Regions from separate parts of the Homo sapiens genome. Here regions 1, 2, 3 and 5 are each linked to region 4. The links are contacts of gene promoters, found by promoter capture Hi-C in blood cells and fetal thymus (Javierre and others, 2016). All regions are on one chromosome and are shown on one strand. Each heading gives the region's core, a stretch centred on a gene start or on the middle of the fragment in contact. The rest is flanking DNA. Distances are from core to core; before and after follow the strand shown. Region 1 overlaps GPR176 (G protein-coupled receptor 176). Region 2 overlaps EIF2AK4 (eukaryotic translation initiation factor 2 alpha kinase 4). Region 3 overlaps EIF2AK4 (eukaryotic translation initiation factor 2 alpha kinase 4). Region 4 holds the start of ANKRD63 (ankyrin repeat domain 63). Region 5 overlaps GPR176 (G protein-coupled receptor 176).

Region 1 (2,700 bases), core at 1-2,500, 480 kb before region 4:
GTAAGAAAGAGAACAGGGTTTGCCAGCAGGGAGACTTTGGGCAGCCAAACAGCAGTGAGCAGCAAGAAGACGGAAGTGTCAGGGACATTGAGCACAGTCTGGTAGACGACCAGGGTGGCATAGGGCACGCTACACAAGATGAAGACCATCACCATGGAGAGCAGGGTGGCGTGCAGCTCGGCCTCCCGCTGGGAGGCATAGGGAATAGAGATGGTGTTCTGTGGGGTCCGGAGCGCTGCTATGATGACCTTCTTCTTCTGGCTGGCACTCAGGGCCCGTCGGATCAGTATCAAGAAGAGGAACACCACCACCACAGGCACAATGACCGTGGTGATGTTATACACCAGAACGTACACCAGGTGGCCCAAGGAGTTGCTCCAGACTTCCGTGCAGGTGGACGTGGCATAGATGTCAGCCACATTGGTTACTGCAAACACAGGGACACTGGCCACCACTGCATGGGCCCAGATGTACATCACCAGTTCACGGGACTTGGCATCAGATATTTTCCTCTCCAGTGGATAGAGGACTGAGTAGTACCTGCAAGATACACAAACAAAATTAATTCCACAGAAGATACTTTTTAAATTAGGGGAACCTAAATCACCAAAAGTAGATGAGAGGGAAGAAAGGTCAAGTTCTTCTATTCGGCCTAAGACAGAAAAGCACTGGGGGAATCCAGGAAGCCAGACCTAAGTTTTGAGGACTTTGCAAGTACAATAAGAAGCGTCACTAGACCAAAAAATAAAAACCTTTCCAAAGGAGCAGCAAACCTGTCCTCATGAGGCTTTACAGGAAAACAAGTAAATAATTTCAATTCATAGCTAGCTTTATAATTATTGCTACCAGGATGAAATCGCAAACAGTACCCTCCATATAAAAGATTTCTCCATCTGCTATAAAGATATCTACTTTTCAATTTGAGGGTAAAGGGTAATTGGTAAACAATTTTATATGGGCTAAAGAAGCTTTAGGGCAATTTTCAAAGCTACCAACAGAAATAAGTTTGTCTACACACATATCTAAAGCAGACTTATGCCACAGTCCAGATATCATTAACAATTAAAGTTGTTCAGGGCAGAAGAACCAGTATGAAGAATGGACTCCGACAAGGTCCTTCCACAAAAATCAATTCAGCTGACAAAAGTTATGCCTGCTCAACAGTCATTGCTCCCATGATAATCACTCAGTAACCCTAAGGGCAATTAATAGGTCTAAAATGCCTGCACAATTAGATTTTTGTTAAAATCAGATGAGACATTGTTTTTCCTTCCAATATTTAACTTGATCATTCTGTAAGCACCTAAACAGAATTCCAAAAGCATGCCGTTTCAATATCACCAGTGATTTGAGGGAACTGAATAACTCTTTGCACCCTAGAACCACATCTGTAGTAAAAGGGCTGCCACTAGCTCTCAGAGATATGGTCAGTTTCTTCACATTTGCTTGGCCATATCTGTGCAGTCAGTTAATGCTGGGGTTGACCTTACAACCTTAGTGACACCCATTCACTCATAGGGCAAGTAAGCACATAAGCTTTCAGATAACAAGTACTTCTTTTTTTTTTTTTTTTTTTTTTTTTTGAGATAGAGTCTCACTCTGTCGCCCAGGCTGGAGTATAGTGGCATGATCTAGGCTCACTGCAACCTTCGCCTTCTGGGTTCAAGCCATTCTCCTGCCTCAGTCTCTCGAGCAGCTGGGATTACAGGCATGCACTACCACGCCTGGCTAATTTTTGTATTTTTAGTAGAGACGGAGTTTCGCCATGTTGGCCCAGGCTGGTCTCGAACTCCTAACCTCAGCTGATCCACCCGCCTCGGCCTCCCAAAGTGGTTGGATTACAGACGTGAGCCACCGTGCCCAGCCTCCTGTAACAGGTACTTCTGAGCACCACCTATGCACCAGGTCCTGTGCCTGGCACTGGGTTATAAGAATGAAAAGACACAGGAATGTCTCTAAACCCAACGGGGACAAAGATACACACACTAATAATTACGAACAAGGAGATGACAGCTCTACTAGAGGCAGGCACAAAGGAGGTACAGGTAGCGCCTAAAGCCACCTGGGAAAATAGCAAGAGAGGGAGACACTGCAGTGGAGTCTGGCAGGGGGACCAGCTGAAGGGGAACATTCCAGGCTGAAAGAGATGGGATGCAAACACAATAGCGACCATGGACAATCAGGGAAGGAGGGAGCATGGTAAGATATGTTCTAGATTTCTTTCTGGGAGGAGGGAAAAAGAGAAAGAAGTGCATAAGTGATGCATGCTTTCACATTTTTTTTTCTCTGAATGTAGATAGTTTTGTAATGACAACTCAGTAAATATGTGATGGCCCCACCTGTACACATGAATAGATGCTTAGGAGTTCACTGGCTCTGACTGCCATTTGCTCACTGACATGTAACAAACCCAGGCTTCCATTAATTTCCAATCCCGTTACATGTTGGGAAACAGATTGCAACATAAGCACACAGGCTCACTATAAATAATGTTCTTAGTGTGTACACCTCTAAACAGTGATGCAAGAAGTGTAGATGACCTCCCGATGAACTTGCTGACTTAGTACCATGAAATGAATAGCTATGAAGGAAGTGAGAGAAAAGACTGTCTTCTCTTCTTCAGGTGTACATGTGGATGCTTGTAAGTAATTTGCATCTGTGAATAACAAAATAGGAATTCACCAGCCCTGTTTTCCTACT
Region 2 (2,700 bases), core at 165-2,664, 350 kb before region 4:
CACATCCAGGATTTCCTCAAGAAATACCATCTTCTGGAGCTATCAGGACAAAATATTCTCTCTCAAACTCAGGGTGCTTCTTCCTTCATTAAATATTTGTTTTAGGCATTAGGAATACAGCTGTGGGCAAAACAGACAAAAATCCTTGCCCTCAGGGAGCTTACTTTTCTAATGCTTAATAATATGAAGTTATTTTTAACCTGAAATGGTAAAAATATAAATTATTCCCCTTAACATGACAGAGAAGTTGGTGACTGGGGAACTTCTATCTTCCCAAACCTTGAGAATCAGGAAGTAGGCCCAAGAAGCAGCCAAAATAGGTGTCTCAAAGTGTACATGGGACTCAACACAAAGCTCCTAAGGCTTCATTCTGAACTAGTTTGTTTACTTTATACAAGCTTAGTTGTCTGCTCCTAGGGCTGCAGAAAAATGGAAGAGAAAAAGCAACTTCTTTTAGGTAGGGATATTGATAACCTCAAGAATTTATAGCTGGTGGCTTTCATAACAAGATGGAATACTAGACAAACCAAAGCAAAAACTATAGAAGGCAGGCAGAAGAATTTAAATAGCTGTCTGTGGCCTATTGTACACCGGGCAAATGGCCTCAACACATTCATAGGACTGGCAGGCAAATAATTGATGGTCTCAAGGATGAATCAGAGTTTAGTCATTCAACAAGCACTTATTATCACCTGCTATTTGCCAGGGAAAAGTGATGCAGGTCCAAAATCCTTTATCCAAAACTCTTTATTGAGAGGGAGTTTCTCTCTGTCGCCCGGGCTGGAGTGCGGTGGAGCAATCTCGGCTCACTGCAACCTCCACCTCCCAGGTTCAAGCGATTCTTGTGCCTCAGCCTCCTGAGCAGCTGGGATTACAGGTACCCGCCTCCACACCTGGCTAATTTTTGTATTTTTAGTAGAGATGGAGTTTCATTATGTTGGCCAGGCTGGTCTCGAATTCCTGACCTCAAGTCCTCCCGCCTCGCCTCCCAAAGTCCTGGGATTACAGGTGTGAGCCACCGTGCCCAGCCTTTTATCCAAAACTCTTGAGACTTGATGGGTTTCAGAATTCAGAAGTGCTTCTGTTCACGTTTATGTGTGCACATTCCACACATTACCTAATACCTTCCTCAGTGTCTGGGGCAGCATCGAAAATCAAACACAATGAAACATAGAAATACTCAAATTTCACACTGAACAAATAAACACTATAACTAACCTCATGTCAGTTCAGGCTAAATTTGCTGCCAATAAATTCAGGTTAGATTTTTTTTTCAACTTCTTTTAGTGGGGATGTGTTGTAATATAAATTTCAGTTTAGTAGCATATGTATATCATTTATAAATAACATTTTGAGGTGCATGCTAAAAACTTTTGCATTTGTAAAAAGTTTAGACACTGCTAGTTTAAAGTATCTATAATTTATAGATAGTTACAAATTACTAACTTATTTTGGCTAGCTTTCCACAGCAGCAAAAGGTCTGCTCATTTATAATTTGATAGCTTTTGGAAACATCCCTCCAAAAAACTTGCTTCAATCCCTGGATCCCCCAGTAGTGTATGGTGGTGTTTGTTTTCCTTTATCTTCAACAATACTATATATGTTAGACTTTTTCATCTTTGCCACATAAATGAAACATATCTCATTTTAATTTTTATTTATTTATAAATTATCTAGAACACCTTTGTTTACAAACCATTGATTTTTCTTTTTCTGTGAACTGCTCATACTCTGGTTTATTTTTCTACTCTGTGGTCCATTTTCTTGTTTATTTGTAAGAGCTAAATATCTTAAGAAAACTAGCATTTTGGGTCATATAATGCATATATTTTTCTCCTAATTATATGCATTTATTTACGTAATTTATGTGATTTAAAAAATGTTGATAGAGTCAAAATGACCTTTTTTTTCTTTTATGGTCCCTGTGGGTTTTTTTTCCCCCTCTGTTCCAATGTTACTAAAAACCAAATTCGTCAAAGTTTACTTTTAACTTGTTCATGACTTCGTTTTTAAATTTTCATCAAATAAAGATATAAGTAGGTTTTTTTTTTTAAGTTCTTCGTTCCATCAAAGTACGGGCCTAGGCCACCTCCCCGTGTGCATCCCTCCTCCTCCAGCTAGGCAGCTAGACAAATATAGGCAATTGAATTTTTCAGTGTCTTCCACTCATTTGAAATGCCATTCCTACAAGCCCAGTGCCTGGTAAAACAAACAAAAAACTTTCAAAAATTGTTACTGAATGAAATAATTCTCAAATGTATTTCAAGTCTCTTTTTTTCCTTGCCTGGAATGCTTGGTCTCTTGGCTTGTCTCAGCTTCAATGCTACATCCTCAGATAGTTCTTCTTTGATAACCACATTTAAGTATATACCCTCACACCCCAAGTCGTTTGTTAAGGAGAGCACCACGTCATCTCTTCAACGGCACTCTCTAAGCTTGTACTTATGTGTTTATTATGTTTGTTTTCCCCCACCAGACTGAAGTTCCATGAGAGCTGGAACCATATCTGTGTTCTCACCTCCGTGGACTAAGCACAGTGCCTGACACAGAGTCAGTGCTTAGCAAATATGGGTGATGGATGTGTGATGGGTGAATGAGTGGATGAAAGACCTGTGGACCAAAGAGTGCTTAACCCTTCCCCAGACCACATTCGCAGAATTATGCTTTATGGAAGGACCCACACATTTATCAAGGATTATT
Region 3 (2,700 bases), core at 12-2,511, 260 kb before region 4:
TGTGCTTCTGTTCTTACATCTGTCTCTAACTCTTGTCTGTCCAGCTCCCTCATACATGCACCCTGTGATTACGTGGGGCCCACCCAGATAATCCTGGTTGATCACTCACAGGTTCTAGGAATGAGGATATGGACATCTTTGCGGGGCTGTACTCCAGCCTGCCACACTTCTGAAGGCACTCAGTGCTTAGTGTGTTTTGGGCTCTGTATCCTGAGACCTCCCACAGCATGCAGGCCTGACACTTGCCGTGGGTGTGGAGGTGTGGAAAGTGGCACCCAGGACACATGCCTGCCCTTTGGAATGGGGGCGTAAGCAGACCATAGAAGGGGTGCACTCCCAGGAGATCATCCAGGTTGTACCCACATTCGCCCACACTAAAGGTGCCCCAGAGCATGGCGATGACCAGGGACACAGACCCACCACCCTCCCACCTGCTCTGTTTACATCACCTGCCAGGAGGCTTCTGAAGCTGCTGCTGTTTACTCGTGTGTGTGTGTTGTATCAAAATTCACATCAGAAGTGTGCTGAGCAACAATTTTTAATCATTTGACAGAACAGTGTCCTCTTCTACTTGTTCACATGTTTCATAAATCATTAGAGAAGTGTTCTGTCCTGCAGTAAAATCCAAGCCTCGTGGCCAGTGACCTCAGTCCTGCACAGTGACACCCCACAGGCTTCTCTGCCCCCTCCTGGTTTGCTTCTTCAGTTCTGCTTTTCACCTTCCCTTATTTCCTTTGTTTCCTTCATTTTCCTCAGAGGCTTTTTCAGCGTGTGTGTGTGTGTGTGTGTGTGTGTGTGTGTGTATGTTGTGTTGTATAATTTTGGGCATCTTTTATTAAGTCTTGAAGCTTTTGAAAACCTCTTACTATTGATTGATTATTCATGGCCCTTTAAACAATCATGAAGGGAAGGGAGGCAAGAGAGGCCTTGTTCCTCCCTTGAATTCTATGCGGCTTCTTGCTTAATATTTATATCCCCCTGAAGTCAGCATTTTAGTAATTCACATTGAGAATATAATTGGAAACAGTATTTTCATTCTCCTTAATTACTTGAAGCTGTTCCAGGTGCTCTGTGTTTATTTTCTTTACTATGTTTGTTTGTTTCAGTCCCAAGAGGAATTACAAGAGTACTGCAGACATCATGAAATCACCTATGTGGCCCTTGTCTCGGATAAAGAAGGAAGCCATGTCAAGGTAAAGACGTCAGAGATTTTTTACAATTCAATAGTTAGGTGTTACCTGTGGAGCACCTGCCTTCACACTGAGGCCCGGGCCGTGTAGGTGACTGGAAATCCGTTCCCTCTACTCTCCCTTTCCATTGTTGGGTTTCTTTTTTTTTTTTGAGACGGAGTCTCGCTGTCTCCCAGGCTGGAGTGCAATGACGCAATCTCGGCTCACTGCAAGCTCCGCCTCCCGGGTTCTCGCCATTTTCCTGCCTCAGCCTCCCCGGTAGCTGGGACTGCAGGTGCCCGCCACCACGCTCGGCTAATTTTTTGTATTTTTAGTGGAGACGGGGTTTCACCATGTTGGCCAGGATGGTCTCCTGACCTCGTGATCTGCCCGCCTCGGCCTCCCAAAGTGCTGGGATTACAGGGGTCAGCCACCGCGCCCGGCCGTTGTTGGGTTTCTTGCTGAAGAAAATGTGTATAAAATAAGGAAGAGAGTCCACCTTCATTAAAGCTTTAAAAAGCAAAACAAACAAAAAAACTGGCTGTGGTTTTTTCCTACTTTTCTCCTCTTGTTCTCTTTTTCCAGCTAAGAAAATAAGAATAAGTAAAGTTGTATCTGCTGATAGGCATATCCTCTCATTGCTTTGTAACCAATTTTACTTTTTTGTATTCAACTAAAAGTGTTCATAAATATACCACCTCATAACCTTTATTTCTAATTATTTTTAAAGGGAAAAAAACTTTCTTAAAAATATTTTTCTCTTCTAATTTTTTTTTGGTTTCGATATCAGGGTAATGTTGGCCTGATGAAATGAGTTGGAGAGTGTTCTCTCCTCTTCTGTTTTCTGTAAGATACTGTATACAATTAGTATTAGAAGTCCAATCTCAAATATTTCTATATATAGAGCTATTCTGGTTACCTCTTTCTTCTAGAGGCAGCTTTGGTAGTTTATATCTTTCCCGGAACTTTTCCATTTCGTCTGAGTTTTCAGATATTCCCCTGTTATTGTTTCACTGTCTCTAGGATCTGCAGTGATGCTCCCTCCTTCAGACCTGATATGGGTAATTTGTGTCCTCCCTCTTTTTTGTCTAATCAGCCTGGCTAGAGATTGATCAGTTTTGTCTTTCCAAGGACCAGCTTTTGGTGTCATTGATTTTTCTCAGTTTTTATTTGTTCATGTGTTTTCTATTTTATTCATCTCCACTCTTATCCATTACTATTTTCTTCCTTCTGCTTATTTTGGATTTAGTTTATTCTTTTTTTAGTTTCTTCAGGTAGAACTTTAGATGAGGTATTGACAAACTACACCTTGGACCAAATTCAGCCCATAGCCTGCTTTTATATGTCTGTGAACTAGAAATTTTTACATTCTTTGTTAAAAAACAACAACAAACAAAGGAGAGTGTGTGACTCCAACTATGTATGGCCCTCAAAGCTTAAAACATTTCCTATCTGGCCCTTTACAGAAAAAAATTTGAAGCTTTGTTATTATACATGTTTAGGATTTTATATCTTCTTGATGAATTGTCTT
Region 4 (2,700 bases), core at 180-2,679:
CCTCCGGGTGGGGACTGAGGCCAATGGGGGCTTGCGCTAAGGTTGGGGGCGCTCCCTCCAGCACCTCCTGTGAGCGCCACCGCCCAGTCCCCGAAGACTGGGGCGAGTTTGGTAGGGCCATCAGGGCCCCAGCCCGCAGGCGGGCAGCCTCCTCCTCGGTTACCGCACCTAGAGCCAGGCTCATGCTCCGACCCAGCTCGGGCCGTTCGCTGCCCTGCGCCCGGTGCCGGCCCGAATTCTTGCCCGCTGAGCCAGCCTCGCCGCCGTGGCCGCCCGCCGCTCGCGCAAAGCGCGCCAGGAGAGGCCGCGGGAGGCGGCGGGGGCTGGGTCGTCGATGCTCGGGGCTGGCCGCGGGGGCCGGGCGGCCAGGGGGACTATCGGAGTTGGAGCCCCGGGCCGCAGCGGCGGCGGCGGCGCGGCCCCAGGGCCCGGTGAGGGCCTGCACACAGGTCCCGTGGCCGCGGGCGGCGGCCAGTTGCAGCGCGGTGAGCCCCGCACGGTTGGTGCGGTCGAGGCGCAGGCCTAGGCGGCGGAAGGACCGCACCAGGAACTCGAGCACCGCCCCGTGGCCGCAGGCCGCCGCCCACATCACCGGGCTGTTGCCCGCAGAGTCGGCCGCCTCGGGGTCACCGCTGAACTGCACCAGCAGCTGCACGGCGTCCAGGTGGCCTCGCTCGCACGCCAGGCTGAGTGCGGTGCGGCCGCGCTCGTCTCGCAGGTTCACTGCAGCACCCTGCTCGAGCAGCAGCCGCACGAAGCGCGCGCGCAGCGCGGGGTCCGGCAGCCCCACGGCCACCATGAGCGGCGTACGGCCCTGCTCCGCGCGGCAGTCGATGATGCTGCGGTCCAGCGCATCCAACACGAAGCGGGCCAAGTGCACTTTGCCCGCCTGCATGGCCTCCAGGAAGGTGCGCGTCCCCGCTCGGGGGCACAGGTCCTTGGGTTTGAGCATGGCCCCGGCCGCCGCGCCCGGGCAGCCTGGCAGTTCCGCACGGGGGCGCCCCTGTTCTCGCGCCCCGCGGGGCTCCGGCCTCCGCCCGCGCTCTGATACCTCTCCCTCCGCGCGTGGGCGGCTGCAGCCGAGGGTCCCGAGGTTCCTACTCCGCTGTCCCGGAGGCTCCGACTGCCCCGCCGCTCCTGGGCCGCACGCCTGGCGTGTCGCCGCTCCTTCCCCGGGCCTCCCGCCTGGAGGTGTTGATTGCTCGCTACTCCGGGCTCCGCTCCTGGCCCGCCACCAGACGTCGGGAGCAGAGACTCGACCCTCTCCCGAGTCTCTCGCCGCTTTCCCGGTGTCCGGCGCCCCTCAGTCCTCGTGGTTTGGAGCCGCCGTGCCACTCACCCGCACCCAGGGCAGCCCCCGCTCCCCCGCAGCGACGGTGGCGCCCGCCGTGCACGCCTGCCTCCAGCCCTGGCGGGGCGCGCCGCTCCTCAAGCTGCTGGCGCCGTTCCTCCGCCTCCTCCCCTCTCGCGGGGGCCGGGCCACGCCAGGGCGCTTGCTCCTTACTTGGGGGGCTCAGCGGCGCGGGAGCTGCCGCCCGCCTAGATACCTGACTTTATAGCCTTGGGGGTCTCCATGGCAATGGCTGTCCTGGGAGCGGACTGCGCCGTCAGGGCAGAGACGGACGGGGCGGGGGAGACCGCTCCTGACCCCCACCCCTTCGTGGGCCACGAAGTAGGGGAGCGGTTCCTCCTCCGCGCTCCCCTGGGAATGCGGCGGCGGTTGCGGGGCGGGGGCGGGGGCTGCTCGCCGGGGGCCACATGCACCCAACCGGGCCAATCCCAAAGTCGCAGTCTTCTCTCCCCGCCCTCCGCCCCCAACCGAGTCGGTGCCCTCGGCTCCTTAGAAACTGGCGGGACCTCGGCCTCGTCGGGGAAGACTGAAAGCTGCCCCCATCGGTCCAGGGTGAAAGGAATTGGGACCCCATGAGCGCAGAACTGGACCACGCGCGAGCTAGGGGTGGCAGCGAAAGGCGGATGAGGAGTAATTTGGGGGAGGGGGTATACGTGCCGCGGATTGGGGGCGCTCAGCCTGGCTGGGAACTGCCACTCGAAGTGCAGAGAATCACGCACTCACACACAATTGTTCCACCCGCACACGCTCCCTGGGAACGAGGGGTGGGGTCCGAGTGCGCTCTCCAATTTCAGACGTCTCCAACCCCGACAACGCGCCCGCGTGCCAGCTCCTGGTGGCTGCCTAGCGGGCAGAGTGTAGACGCCCAGACCAGGGAGGGGCTCCTTAGGACCCGGGAGTGCCGCGGACATGTTAAAAGTTCCCTGGCGCCGCCACCCTGGAAAGAGCTAGGGACCCACTCGAGGTTCCCTGCCCCTCGCTTCTCCCTTGAGCACAAAACAACCCCCAGGCCACAGGGCTCTGGCTCTGACCACTGGCTGACCCCTAAAGAGAGGAGGCGAGCACAAGTTCCATTTTCCGTAAGATGCTTGGAGAAACCACTGCATCTCCTCTCCCTCCGGCCAGCAGGTCCCCCTCGGTCCTGGAGGAGGGGGGATGATACACAGGCCTGGGCGGAGCAGAGTTAGGGCGCCTCAGAGCCTGGGTGTGGGTGGTGGGGAGGGTGTGAGTAGGGTTGGAATGGATATTTGTAAAGTAAGGAGTAAAGCAGTTATCAGCTGCAGAATTTACTGAGACTTTTCATGAGCCGCACATTTTGTTGCCGGCAGCGGGTAAGAGAGAGACAGAAT
Region 5 (2,700 bases), core at 151-2,650, 400 kb before region 4:
AATAGAAAATAATAGATTGCTGATTCCATTTGCTTATGGCAAGAAAGAAAAATAATTACATGTTTCAGCCATGCACTGTACCTATCTCAAAAAGTGATGTAGAACAAGACACTGATGTAGAAGACAAGAGAAAGACAGTTTCTCCAAGTCTCATACTGAATAGACAATTCAATGCAATTTCCCTGCTTTCACAAGGGAACACTAAACAATGCATCTTTAGAAATGGGAATATTAGGCCAGGCACAGTGGCTCATGCCTGTAATCCCAACATTTTGGGAGGCCAAGGTGGGTGGATCACCTGAGGTCGGGAGTTTGAGATGAGACTCACCAACATGGAGAAACCTCGTCTCTAATAAAAATACAAAATTAGCCAGGCATGGTGGCGGGCGCCTGTAATCCCAGCTACTCGGGAGGCTGGGGCAGGAGAATCACTTGAACCCGGGAGTAGGAGGTTGCGGTGAGCCCAGATCGTGCCATTGCACTCCAGCCTGAGCAACAAGAGTGAAATTCTGTCTCAAAAAAAAAAAGAAAGAAAGAAATGGGAATATTAGACTTTGCCTACCAGGAACTGTAAGACTCAGCAGAGAATTTTACAGGTATACTTCCCTCCTGCTGAGTGTCAGCAGTAAGAAGGAAAGAACACCCACCTAGAAGCAGCACAACCTGGGGACTTGTTCCAGCCCTGACATGCTTGCACAAGTCACTTCATCCCCCACCCCCATCTTGATTTTCACATCTATAAAATTACAGCATTGGACCAAGTTAAGATATCTGTGTTGTTTTTCCCTCAACGGTGGGCCAAATGGTCTGAAACATCTAAGTGTGAAGCCTGAATGATCTCAAAAATTTTAATGAGTTGAGAGAATCCACACTTGGCACACGAATACTAATTAGAGTGACAAAGCTTGAGTCAAAGGCACAAAAAGTGCTTACTCACACTGATCTCCTTTGTAAATTATTATGCAAATGTTCCGGTTCCATAATATAACATTAGGAGAATTAAACTGTAACAGCTGAAAATGAAATGCCTGTAATTAATTATGTTCACCTTCAACTGTAATGACAGACCTGGGCCTGCTAATAGCAAGGTGTCACATAATAGTGATCCTTAAGAGGGGGCTTTGTCCTTACTGACCTACCAGATTGTGTGGGTATCCTAATTCCTAATTTAAATGGAAAAAGTATGCTACCAACCTTTCCCAGGCTTAACTCCAGCATCAAGCAGTCTGCATTTGTTCCAATGGGCCATACGTTGGGACCCCAAGGGAACACGAGGTTATTTCCTCTCTAATATTCTATGAGTCTAAACCAGTGATTCTCAAACTTTGATGTACCTATGAATTACCTGAGAAACATATTAAAAATGCAAATTCCTAAGCCTCACTCCAGAGGCTGTGGTTCAGTAGATTGGGAGTGCATCCCAGAAATGAATATTTTTAACAAGCACAGGAAGTGGTTCTGATGCAGGTAATCCAAAATCCATACTTGGAAACACACTGGCAACTCAAAAGTGGCTGGGTCCTAGAAGCAGAAAAAGGCCAGGGTTTTCCTTATTTGGTTAAAAACAGCACAGTCAAGAATTAAATTCCAAGCCAGCATAGTGCATATGTAAGTCCTTGCTAATGAGGAAGACTGAGGTGGCTCAGGCATAAATGGAACAATGCATATTTCCAGATCAACACAAAGAGGTGAATGGCCCACCACCCACATTTGCTGGAATGCCGCTGTGTAAAACAGCAGCATCATTCATCCAACAGGTGAGAAACAGCAGGGGCAAATGAATCATTCATCCAACAGGTGAAAAACAGCAAAGGCAGAGGCTCTGCAGAATCATGCAAACCTGACCAGGATTTATGCAGCATCCAACAGTTAATTTAAATTTAAAAAAAAAAAAAAAAAAGCTTGTCTCCTTTCTGCTTTTACTTGTCTAAAGCTTCTGGAATTTCCTGAGGACTTATTTTCCTAGAAGAAAATCTCACCCGCTCAAATCATACCACCTATTAGTAAGCCTGGCACAATGATTTTCAAGCGGAAAGATTCAAAGTTCTTTACTGAGAATCCTAAATCCTCTTCCAGAGGAGTATGTTGAAGGGTAGCTGAATATGCCATCCCAAAATATGCCACTTTGGCATAAGGATTATTTGGAGTTGAAGGCAACTGGGAAGATGCAGATATAAAAGAAGCTCTCTGCCATCCTCCTATCTGCAAAGGAGTCTAGGAAGGACAAAGGCTGATCACCAGCCTGGAGAGGGCACCAGAGGAATGAATCTACACAACAAACTTTCTAACTTAGCTTTATCTACCAGGAGTTTCCCATGTATTTTATTTGTCTTCCCACAGTTTGCCACGCCTAGAGACTCAAGGTCCTTTCCCTTTCTGCAGTCATTTATCTAAATATTTACTGTTCTTTGTTGAAAATGCTGTAAAGCCAGAGTACTAAGCCACCTCTTTGAGATCTATTCACTTCTCTGGTATCTCCCATATACATATAACACATATGTGTTAACTTCTTGCTTTTCTCTTGTTGGTTTTTTTGGGGGGTGAAGGGAATCTGCTTTTTATTTGTTTTTTTTGTTTGTTTGTTTGGAGACAAGGTCTCACCCTGTTGCTCAGGCTGGAGTGTAGCGACATGATCATAGCTCTCTGTATCCTTAAACTCCTGGGCTCAAGCAATCCTCTCACCTCAGTCCCCCAAGCAGC

The links. The method cuts DNA at HindIII sites, captures the fragments that hold promoters and counts their contacts. A CHiCAGO score of 5 or more calls a contact.
Region 1: a fragment that was not itself captured here is called in contact with the fragment with the promoter of ANKRD63 in region 4 in 2 of 17 cell types (total B cells and naive B cells); the score reaches 8.3 in total B cells.
Region 2: a fragment that was not itself captured here is called in contact with the fragment with the promoter of ANKRD63 in region 4 in 1 of 17 cell types (total B cells); the score reaches 5.1 in total B cells.
Region 3: a contact is called between a fragment that was not itself captured here and the fragment with the promoter of ANKRD63 in region 4, in 4 of 17 cell types (naive CD4 T cells, total B cells, activated CD4 T cells and 1 more). The highest score is 6.2, in naive CD4 T cells.
Region 5: a fragment that was not itself captured here is called in contact with the fragment with the promoter of ANKRD63 in region 4 in 1 of 17 cell types (naive CD4 T cells); the score reaches 5.7 in naive CD4 T cells.

Annotation. Positions count from the first base shown.
Region 1 is chr15:39,801,715-39,804,414 of GRCh38, forward strand. It overlaps GPR176 (G protein-coupled receptor 176), which reads right to left. Exons shown (of 3, transcript NM_007223.3): 3 at 1-540. Among named protein-coding and RNA genes, the nearest start is that of FSIP1, 20 kb to the left of the region's middle. The HindIII fragment of the contact is 568 bases long and covers 967-1,534 here.
Region 2 is chr15:39,935,679-39,938,378 of GRCh38, forward strand. The region is part of intron 1 of EIF2AK4 (eukaryotic translation initiation factor 2 alpha kinase 4); the gene reads left to right. Among named protein-coding and RNA genes, the nearest start is that of EIF2AK4, 2.9 kb to the left of the region's middle. The HindIII fragment of the contact is 2,037 bases long and covers 397-2,433 here.
Region 3 is chr15:40,021,413-40,024,112 of GRCh38, forward strand. EIF2AK4 (eukaryotic translation initiation factor 2 alpha kinase 4) reads left to right here. Exons shown (of 39, transcript NM_001013703.4): 32 at 1,107-1,193. Among named protein-coding and RNA genes, the nearest start is that of SRP14, 16 kb to the right of the region's middle. RefSeq lists enhancers at 962-1,463, 1,464-1,963. The HindIII fragment of the contact is 831 bases long and covers 847-1,677 here.
Region 4 is chr15:40,281,635-40,284,334 of GRCh38, forward strand. ANKRD63 (ankyrin repeat domain 63) reads right to left here and starts at 1,430. Exons shown (of 1, transcript NM_001190479.3): 1 at 1-1,430. The coding sequence starts at 952. It also overlaps a transcript of PLCB2 not described here. RefSeq lists silencers at 912-1,181, 1,192-1,251, 1,322-1,391. The HindIII fragment of the contact is 15,046 bases long and covers 1-2,700 here.
Region 5 is chr15:39,885,718-39,888,417 of GRCh38, forward strand. All of the region lies in intron 1 of GPR176 (G protein-coupled receptor 176), which reads right to left. Among named protein-coding and RNA genes, the nearest start is that of GPR176, 33 kb to the right of the region's middle. RefSeq lists enhancers at 1-416, 417-948, 1,481-2,011. The HindIII fragment of the contact is 997 bases long and covers 903-1,899 here.